2 separate regions of the Homo sapiens genome follow, and region 1 is linked to region 2. Evidence: promoter capture Hi-C in human tissues and cell types (Jung and others, 2019). All regions are on one chromosome and are shown on one strand. The core of a region is centred on a gene start or on the middle of the fragment in contact, and the rest is flanking DNA. Distances in the headings are between cores, read along the strand shown.

Region 1 (4,968 bases), core at 2,176-4,675, 340 kb before region 2:
TGTGACTGTTCTCTGTGCCCCATGCACCTTCTCCCTCAGTCCCCGCGTCTTGTGGACAAATGCTGTCAGGTGCTAGGACAAGGGCAGTGGAGGAGGTGCCTCTGGTCCTAGCCAGCTCTGCCACCACGTCATGTGGGTCCCACTGCAGGGGAGGATGGTGGCACATCCTCAGTCTGCTGCTCCAGTCTGCCCACACTGCTCCTTGGGTGAATCCACCTAAAGCACATCTGAGGGGGCACAGCACCACCCTAACTGGTCCCCCACTGCCCTCCCCCGCACACCATGCTTTCCATGCCCAGCGCTTTCCTGCCTCCGTGCCTTTGCACATGCTGTTCCCCCATTCCCGCTTATTTCCCATAAATATGAAATCTGAATACTGAAGTCAAGAGCCACTTCTATTGTGAAGCTTTCATGACCCGCTCCCCCCGCAAGCTAAGGATAACTTCTCTCATCTCAAATCCCCCAGCGCCTCATCCATGCCACCCCCTGCCAACAATTACTCTCCATCCTGCTATCCAGTCACTTGGGCCTGGGATTTATCTTCATCACAAGACTGAGAGCTCCATTGCTGATGAGGCTTGGTTTCTCCAGGGCCTGGCATAGGGGACCAGTAGGCCATGCTGGGTGGATAGACAGTTGCTTGTTTGAAACATTGATGAGGATAATAATAACACACTTGTATGGAGAATCCCTGGATGCCAGGCACTGTTGTAAACATCTTACATGTAATCACTTAGTTAATCTTCATAACAACTCATATGGAAGGTACTTCTGTTCTCCCCAGTTTTATATATGGAAAAATGAGGCCCAGATAGAGCTTAGGTAACTTGCCCAGGGTCACGCAGCTAGTAAGTGGCAGAGCCAGGATTCTGATTCCAGAAGTCAGGCCCCATGTCCGTGTTTATACCATGTGGCTGAGCTGCCTCTCTTCCTGGCGGGTGGCAGACAGGTGATGGAGGAAGACCATTTCCTAAGCCTGGAGTCCTCACAAGACTTTGCTTCCAGAATCTCTTCCCACCCCTGCATAGCACCTTCTTATTCACATTCCTGTCCCTTCAGTGGTGCAGCGATAACCTGGTGTTGTAGTTGTCCATGCCTGATGCATTTGGGGAGTTATTAGTGCTGAATCTTCAGAGAGTCTTGGCGCAGGTTGAACATCCCTAATCCAAAATCCGAAGCTTTTGGAGGCCGACATGACGCCACAAGTGGAAAATTCCACACTTATCCTCCTGAAGGGTCGCAATCCAAAGGCAGTCAAAACATTATTTCATCCACAGAATTATTAAAGCCACTGTATAAAATTACCTTCAGCCTATGTGTATAAGGTGTATATGAAATAGAAATGAAATTTCATGTTTAGACTTGGGTCCCATCCCCAAGATAACATTTCATGTATACAGATATTACAAAATCTGAACAAATTTGAAGTCTGAAACACTTTGGGTCTCAAGCATTAGGGATAAGGGATATTCAACCTGTATTACTGGTATATCCTGCCACAGACACTGTTGTGTCTTGGGAGTATTCATGTGGCTGTGCCAGAGTGGAATGTCTTGAAGTTATCACTATTGCATCTCCTGAGTCTTTGGGCATCACTGATACCATTTGGGCCCCCTCACACACACCATGTCTCACGGTGAGACCAGAGGCAGGTATAGTAGCTCCTCGGAGAGAATCTGCCTGGTCCCCCAGCGCGTGTTCCCAGGCCAGCCCCAGATCCTGGGTGGATCCAGGGCTCAGCAAGCTGATCCTATGCCAGAGCCTGTTCTAAACTTCTGGAAGGTTTCAGGCCCTCTTGCCCTCACCCAGAGATCCCAAAAGATGGCAAGGGAGGGCCCCTACTAGGGAGTGTGGATGGGGAAAAGGATTTAGGGTGTTCTCCTGGGCCGGCTGCTTTGATCTCCTGGGATGAAAGGGCTGGTGCTTCCTCTGCCCCAGGCAGGATCAGGACAGCAAGCTGGGGAGAGAGGCATTGATCCTGGGTCCAGGCGTCCTCAGCTTCATAGGCGAGGGCAGAGAACTATCCCAGGGAAGAAGATCACGGGGGCAGAAAAATCAAAGCCCTTCCCCAGGGTTGTGGCTGAGGACTGGGAGTTGACTTCAGACAGTCCCTGTGCAGATTGTCCTCTCGAGGGTCACCCAGGGTGATGCTCCTCCCAGCACACCCTGACCCTGCAGGTCACCATGCAGGCTCAGGCCTCACAGACTCTCTTGCTTAATTAGGAAGGTAATTCGGCTGCAAAACAGTCATCTGATCTGTGTCGACGCCAAAGCGAAATTCCTCCTAGACCCTCCGCTGTTCTAGATTATCCATGCTCCGTTAGCTTGAATTACCGCGCGGCCTCTGTGGCCCAGACACAAGCCAGAGCTATGTGATCAGCTCCTGGGGCTGGATCTGCCCTGCACCTAGGAAGTGCTTGGAAGCAACAGGAGGAAGGAGGGCATAGGACCTGCCTGACTCCCATCCAAGCCGGAGCATTGCCCAGCCAGCACGAAGGGACCAGCATTGCCCAGAGCCCCCCTACCCCCGGGCCTGCAGGTGCCTGCCGGGCTCCCAAGCTTAGCCACTTTTATGTCCCTCTCCTCTGCCCTCTGGGACCGGGCCCCTTTGAGGGTTTTGAATCAGTGGCAGAGGCTTTCTGCAGCAACTCCTAGGCATAAATTGGAGCGGAGGCAGGGACAGGCATCTCCCTGAGTGTAAATAACACTGTAAATAACACTGGAGCGGAGCAGCCACACTGCACTGGATTATTTTATCGTGATTGCCCACCTCCCCCACCCCCTGAACTGTCCCAATCTCATTGGCCTAGATTGCTGCATCTCTCAGAATGATGGAGGGGCTGCCTCTCCCTTCCCGGGCAGGGTGGCCAGCCCTGCCGTTGAGGCACCCTCCTACCCAGCAACTTCCCAGATTTATTCCCTGTCTTTATGGTGCCTGGAGAGTCATCAGTGTCCTGGGCCGGCAGAGCACTCTGATGGTCTCCACTGGCGTGATGGATAGGCCTTTGGGGGAACGTGTGCGACAGCCCCCTGCTCCCGGCCTGCCTCTGCCCTGACCACAGCACCGTTCCCCACCCTCCCAGGGGTCAGATGATGGGCCTCGTGGCCAGTCCTGAAGGGGCGGTGATGATGGAAGAGGGAGAGAGCATCAGTCCTCGGCGCCCACCTCTCAGTGCTGCTGCAGAGTCTTTCTGGCCTCCTCCCCAAGCTCTGCTCACAAACACCCTTCCCAGGAAATATCCCCATTACCCTCTCTCATCTCCCATCACTCCATTACTGCTAGCCCCTCGGCACTTGTGTACACAGTTTGCGCTGTAATGATAATCTGTGCTGGTTTATGTGTTTCTTTACAAGTGTTTTTATGTCCTCTGTGTGTGTATGAGGAAGGTTTATGGTGTGTGTGCGTGTATGAGGTCACGTGCTGTGTGTGTGTGCGTGCGTGCGTGCGCGCGCGTGTGCACGCGCCTGCTTCTGATTAGACTCTGATCGCCATCTTCTCCCACACACAGGTAGGGGGCCCTCACCCCCCTCCTGGGGTTGGGGGCACAGCCTGGCTACTAAGGGTGGGTGGAGAAGGAGGGGGAGCCAATCAAAGATGATGACTGTCCGGGCAAGGTCTACACTGCCCCCCAGCCGCCAGTTAGAGAACCGGCGAAGGTCAGTCTTAGATCATTGTTTTGTCTACAGGGTCACAAACAACTAGTTTGACTATTTTTCCCCAAGAAATTGACTGAACCCAGTGGTTATTTTGGAGTCAAATGATCTCAGTCTTTTATGACTTACCTGTGTCAGCGGGTGTATCTGTGTCTTCTCTAAACAAGTTCCCCTAGCTGTACAATGGGATGAGATGATAAGAGGCTGGAAGGGGCGAATAACATATGTGGTGTGCTTAGCACAAGCAATAATTTGCTTGATCCAGGGAAAGCCTTCGCACCGCTGGACTGTTGTGAGCTACCACTGGGAGGGACTCCCAGTCTGGAGAAGGAGGGTCCGTTCCCTGGGGCTGGGGAAGCCAGGCCCAGGAACCCTCCTGGCTGTGTGTGCCCCAGAACGCTGTGGGGAGCCCCTCTGCTGGGCTCCTGTGACTTCTCCAGGGTGGTCAATGCAAGCAGAGTATGTCTTAGTCTCAGGCCCCTGGGCTACTGGAGATCCGCCCCCCCAACCCAGATGATCACCTGGGCAGGTGCCTCCTGTGCTCCCTTCTGAAAGGAAAGCAAGGGTTTCACTCAAGGTGCAGAATTCTGGCTGCCCCAAGCGCCCAGTGCCAGTCCCTGTAGGAATCCCACTGCCCTGGATGTGTTGTGGGAGAGGCAGACAGGTTCATCCTGGCATTCACTCGACATGTGCCAGGCACAGAGGTGGGAGCTGTAGACAGCAACAAACATAATATCCAGTCCAGCACTGCATGGCATCCACGCTCTGACCTCTGACCTCACACACAGCAGGTGATCCCTGAGGGTGTCAGCTCTTTCAAGCAGGAATGCTAGTCGGGTTGAGGCCTGGGTGGATGGTGGAGAGATGGAGCTAGGGCCTTGTGGGTCAGGCCTCAGTCTCTTTAAGCCATCCTGTTTGGACGTGAAGGGACAGTGACACTAGGCAGGGGCCTGCATTCTCCTTCATTCTGCCAAGATGTGTTAAACACCTGAGCCCACTGGGCACAGTGGCTCATACCTATAGTCCTAGCACTTTGGGAGGCCGAGGCGGGTAGATAACCTGAGGTCAGGAGTTCGAGACCAGCCTGGCCAACATGGTGAAACCCTGTCTCTACTAAAAATACAAAAATTAGCCAGGCATGGTTATGGGCACCTGTAATCCCAGCTACTCAGGAGGCTGAGGCAGGAGAATCACTTGAACCCAGGAGGCGGAGGTTGCACTGAGCCGAGATCACACCATTGCACCCCAGCCTGGGCAACAAGAGTGAAACTCCATCTTAAAAAAAAATAAAAATAAAAAACTAACCTGAGCCCA
Region 2 (5,470 bases), core at 89-2,588:
CGGGTGCAGTGGCTCACACCTGTAATCCCAGCACTTTGGGGGTCTGAGGCTGGTGGATCACCTGAGGTCAGGAGTTCAAGACCAGCCTGACCAACACGGTGAAACCCTGTCTCTACTAAAAATTCAAAAATTAGCCAGGCGTGGTGGTGGGCTCCTGTAATCCCAGCTACTCGGGGGAGGCTGAGGCACAAGAATCACTTGAACCCGGGAGGAGGAGGTTGCAGTGAGCCGAGATTATGCCATTGCACTCCAGCCTGGACAACAGAGCAAGACTCTATAAAAAAAAAATCGGCCTGGCGTGGTGGCGCACGCCTGTAATCCCAGCTACTTGGGAGGCTGAGGCAGAATTGCTTGAACCTGGAGGTTGCAGTGAGCTGAGATCGCGCCATTGCACTCCAGCCTTGGCAACAAGAGCGACGACACTCCGTCTCAAAAAAACAAAAAACAAAAACAAAAACAAAACAAGAGTTGAAATCAAGAAGGGAATCGTGCCTTGGACAAGAACAGGGGTGCCTCTTTCACTGCTCCTGATAAGAATGGATTCAGACATGTTTGTAGGTAGAAATTTAAGAATTCCCCTCTTGATTGCGTCTGATTTCTCTGGGAAATAGAAGAGAAGGAAGGACTTGAGGAGAGTAGCGATGGAGAGAGAGATCTATGGTGAAGATGGGAGGAGTTAACGGCAGCTGCAAGGGTTGATGGAGCAGCTGAAGTTGAAAACCTGGATTCGCCTTGGTACCCAGCTACCTGGTTGTGCGATTTTCCTCATCAACATCGGGGGAGTCGGGAGAAGGTTACATAAAAGGAATGGGAGCAGCAAAAATTCAAGTTTTGTCTCGGCTTTTTCTTGAAAAGACCAAAGAGAATTCTTTCATTGACTCAGTGCCTCCGTTTACCCACTCAGGCATTCATCACTAATCACTGGTCCCATGAAAGTAAAATGAGCGGAGAGTGTCTTTGACAGCAGAGAAAAAGAGAAGAGGCTGAGGAACAGGACCTCCCCCAGCCCAGTGAGAAGGGGAGTGGGGGACGTTTAGCCTTCCCTAAAAACTGAAAGTTGATACGCCCCAGGGCTCAAGTTCCGAGCCTTCTCCCATGACGCCTCTTCTTTCCCAATACCTTCCAGCTGCCCCGTCGTGTGACATTCCAGTCCACCTCTGTTCCTGCTCCACCCGCTCCAAACTCGCGTGCTTTTCCTCCACGTGGTTCTCTGTGTATATCGGTTGCCTGGGTGGCCCCAGCCGGAGGCCGGGCTCTAATGACGCCACAGTAGGAACAAGCCAATAGCCGTGACGCGACTCAGTGACGCGAGACGCGGGGTGTGGCTCTGCCGGCCCAGGCGCGATGAGGCGGCTGCCCGCTGGGTGGCGCCGATTTCCCGGGGAGGTCCCTTCTGGGCCCCCGGCGGAGGTGGGAGAGAGTCAGGCAGGAGCCGAGGCCGGGGAGCCCTCTTCGTCAGCTGGTGCTCACTGCGCCGCGCCAGCGCCAGCCGGGACTCACCCGCAGCTCCATGCTTGTGCCCGGTTCGACTCGTCCATACTCCAAGAAGAGGCAGGTACGTGCCACCTGTCGGGGATCCGGGAGGGGGGATTCGGGGATCAGTGCCGGTTTGGAGCTCAGAAAGTAAGGTGTCCACGACATTCTGGGCAGAGTGGACACTAGAAATATAGGGAGAGAGCCGGCTGTGCAGGGACGCTCCAGCTGTGTCTGCCAGTTGTGTGAGGGCTGCCTGCTGACAGCCCAGGGTGCCAGGAAGAGCCAACTGTGTGCTGATCAGTGTATTCTAAGGAAATGCTGCTTTGGCGGGTCCTCCTCGCTGTGCCCCGTGTATATCGGTGGTATGTGGCCTGAGCGACACTGACAAACCCCCTCCCCACGTGTGCGTGCAGCTCACTCGCTGCTCTTAAAGCTCCCCGGTCAGTTTGCTAAAGGGGGTTAGGGGCGGGGGTTGGGCAACAATTAAGCGGAAGGGGAGATTTTCCACCAATCCCAAACCAGAAAGAGGCAGCTTTGAAATTCTCACCAGTCCCAAACCAGAAGCAGGCACGCGGTGCTCCGGAGAGAGCAACTTCTCAACAGTCAAGGGAAGCCCTAGCCAACCCATTCTAGCCCTTCCCTGAAGAGTGAACATCCTACCTCCTGACCTGGCTGCCTTTAGAATGGGACTGAGCTGGAGGTAGTGGTAGGGGCTGCTCACCTCCCCTGGAATGGGCATGAGAACATCCCCCAGATGGACCCCCGTAAAGCAGAGGAAAGGAGAGCTGATTGGGCTAAGGTCGAGGCAGGCCCCCTCCTTTGATGCTGTAGATGCATGTCAGACTGGAGTCAGAATGAGGACTGGAATGAGGGCGTCCTCTGAAGTGCATCATTAGGACCTGGGCTGAGTCAGTAGCCTGTGCTAAGACAGGGTGGAGGCACCAGGCTGGGTACTCCCAGTCCTCGGGGAGAGCCATCGAGAAACGTCCTGGGAGCAGACAAGTGCACCAAGGCCAGAGAGGCTAAGAACCCCGTTCCTTCCTCTTGTGACCCTGCCCAGCCCGGCTCTGTGGCCCTGGAATCCTGAGCCCTCCCACAGGTAGAGTGGAACCACCCCAGAGGGGCCAAGCATTCTCCTGGTGGCCTGGGGGAAGCTGCACTTGCCGTATTTTTCTAGGCAAAGGGGGAAGGAGCCCAGATGGGCTTGGCCTTTCTCTGCTTGGTGGACTGGACGTCTAGGAAGATGGCAAGCCTTGTTTGCCCTTCCCAGTTATGGGACATGGTCAGTTCAGAAAACCAAGGGACTGTTCTCTGGCATTAGAAAGGCACACTTCCGGCCGGGAGCAGTGGCTCAAAGTGCAGTAATCCCAGCACTTTGGGAGGCCAAGGCGGGCGGATCACAAGGTCAGGAAATCGAGACCATCCTGGCTAACACGGTGAAACCCCATCTCTACTAAAATTACAAAAAAATTAGCCGGGCGTGCTGGCGGGAGCCTGTAGTCCCAGCTACTCGGGAGGCTGAGGCAGGAGAATGGCGTGAACCCAGGATGCGGAGCTTGCAGTGAGCCAAGATCGCGCCACTGCACTGCAGCCTGGGCGACGGAGACTCCGTCTCAAAAAAAAAAAAAAAAAAAGAGAAAGGAACACTTCCCCAGGAGTAACCCTCCTTTTCTCCCTAGGAAGGTTCACCTGGTAAGGCGCTATTATTAATAATACCACTAATTATAATAAGAAGTGGAAGTATTCAATATAATCATCAATGTTTATTGAACTCTATGGGCCATGAAATTTACAAATATTATTTTATTTAATCCTCACAACTGAGATAGACCACTATTATTACTATTAGTCCCGTTTTGCAGATTAAATAGCTAAGGTTCAGAGAACTTAAGTGACTTATCCACTATTTCAGAGCCAATAAGGGAAAGAACTAGCCTCCAATCCCAGGCCTAGAAGTCCATTAGAAAAGAATATTGGACTGAAACCTGAGTACTAGTCCCCTTTCTGCTTCTCGCTATCTGCACATGCCCTTGAGCAAGCTGCTTTCTTTCTCTAGGTCTACTCTATCTCAAAATTAAGAGTGGGGCTAACTGTATGGCTTCTTCCTGTTCTCTAATTCTGTGACTGACTGCTCTGGAAAATCCACTTTCTCCATATTTTTGTCTCAAGTTCCACCCCCACCCCTCTGTGCTCTTTTCAATGCTCTTTCCTCTTGAATCTCCCGATTGTTCCCCTTCAAAATGCCCCCCTTCCAAGAGTCCTCACAGACCTCCTTGGCTGGCACTGGCCCGAAAGGGCAGCCCCTCAAGGTGAGCACGCCACTGCCCCTTTAATTCTCCTGGGGCTTGGAATGCAAGTGAGTTGCACTCGCCATCTCTGCGAGTCTGCGAGGTCAGATAAGATACTATATATATCGGAGTCAGTAACCTGAGCTCCGGATTACCCAGCCCAGAGTCAGGCTCCAGCTTCTGGGCTTTCCACTGCATTCCCTGCCCTGCTGGGGAAGGAGAAGCCCCCAGCTCCCATCCAGTGCCCCTGGACACAGGTCAGTAGCTGCCCCTTTGGTATCTGAGCTTCTCTGGGACTCTACCTAGAGGAAAGACATCAGTGAATCTGGGAGAGCATGTGAGAGGCCACCCCATTGGGCCCGGTGGGTGTCAGGGGCAAGACCAAAGGCTCCTCCGGAGGCTGAGAACAGAGGAAAGATGACGCCCTAGAGGAGAAGGAAGGAGACCGGGGCTCTCCCCTTGGGAGGGGGCACCAGGAGAGTACCTGGGCAGAGGTGCTTGGAAAAGAGAATTTAAGGATCCCAATACTACCTGGAGGCCCATTTCTTTGCCTTGTCTTGGAAGTGTATAGATGCCCACCCACTCACAACCCCAAATCAAGGAGCACCCTATAGAAACTGCCCTGGGCCCATCCACTTCTTCTCCACCAGTCAGGATTCTTGCCTTAATCTCCAGTCTCTTTATCTTACCTCCTCCCCTCCCCCAGCTCTTGGGTAACTACTGGGAGCACAAGAAAGAGAAATGGACCCAAATTCCCTTGGATGACCCCCTGCCAGGGGAGGCAAGAGGATTAGGCTGGTGGATCAGCGGGTGCTAGCCCCTGATAGACAAAGCCTAGTGACAGGCTGGAGGGGAGGAGGCCAGCCCAGGCCCTGGGGCCTGAGAGGAGTAGGCGGAGTTCAAGGACTGTTTGAGCATAAATATGCCCCCGCCCCCCCATCCCCTACTCTACCCATGTCCTCTACACCTGCCAGGATTCCCTCATCCCATCCTCCAGGACCAGACACTTGTGCCCAGATAGTGCAGCAGGTGACCCAAGCAGCTGGGAGGCAGGGTCAGAGTGCAGATGGAAGGATACAGGGCCCCCTCTCACCCACCTTGTCCTTCAAGGTCAGCACATTCTGATGCTGTTAGCAAGTGGCTTTAGGAAGCTCTGAGGTCACCACTGTGGGGGCTCCCAACCACCTGGCGGGACTGGCTGGGACTCCCCACTCACCTTTTCCGGGCACCTGAGTAGGAGGGAAGAGACTTAACCCTGTTTAGGCGTGCTTCTGAAACTCAGCTAGAGGCTCTCTATCCAGGCCCCAGTAGCAAAGCAGGCTTTCACCCCAGAAAGCCAAGCAGATCTGGGCAGAGAGAAGCCATGAAGGTTACTGGGATGTGGGGCATCACCCATCCCCTGCCCCCAGGGCCAGGAGCGCCTGGAATTCCTGGGGAGCAAGTCCCTCCCCTGGCTGGGCAGGTTAGGGAGCCCTTCATGTGAGCAACAGGAAATGACAGTGGCTGAAGCAAAGGGGTTGGCTGCCCCACGGGGACAGGGTTCATTTTAACCCCTGACTCACCCAGCATGGGTACCTTGAGGAGTGGGCCAAGCTGCAGCCAGGGTAGGAGGCTAGGGACTTGCTCATAACCAGGCCAGGGACCCAAGGCCCCGAGCTGGGGTAGATGCTGGTGCCAGGGGACATGCAGGGGCTTGGCACAGTGGG

The links. The method cuts DNA at HindIII sites, captures the fragments that hold promoters and counts their contacts. A contact is called where the count stands out against the background at its distance.
Region 1: a contact is called between a fragment that was not itself captured here and the fragment with the promoter of USP2 in region 2, in 1 of the 25 tissues and cell types used here (dorsolateral prefrontal cortex).

Annotation. Positions count from the first base shown.
Region 1 is chr11:119,715,337-119,720,304 of GRCh38, reverse strand. All of the region lies in intron 1 of NECTIN1 (nectin cell adhesion molecule 1), which reads left to right. Among named protein-coding and RNA genes, the nearest start is that of NECTIN1-AS1, 7.9 kb to the right of the region's middle. RefSeq lists an enhancer at 1,603-2,376. The HindIII fragment of the contact is 5,265 bases long and covers 793-4,968 here.
Region 2 is chr11:119,377,558-119,383,027 of GRCh38, reverse strand. It overlaps USP2 (ubiquitin specific peptidase 2), which reads left to right and starts at 1,338. Exons shown (of 13, transcript NM_004205.5): 1 at 1,338-1,555. USP2-AS1 (USP2 antisense RNA 1) reads right to left here and starts at 1,250. Exons shown (of 4, transcript NR_034160.1): 1 at 1,120-1,250. RefSeq lists enhancers at 1,271-2,260, 5,218-5,470. The HindIII fragment of the contact is 18,363 bases long and covers 1-5,470 here.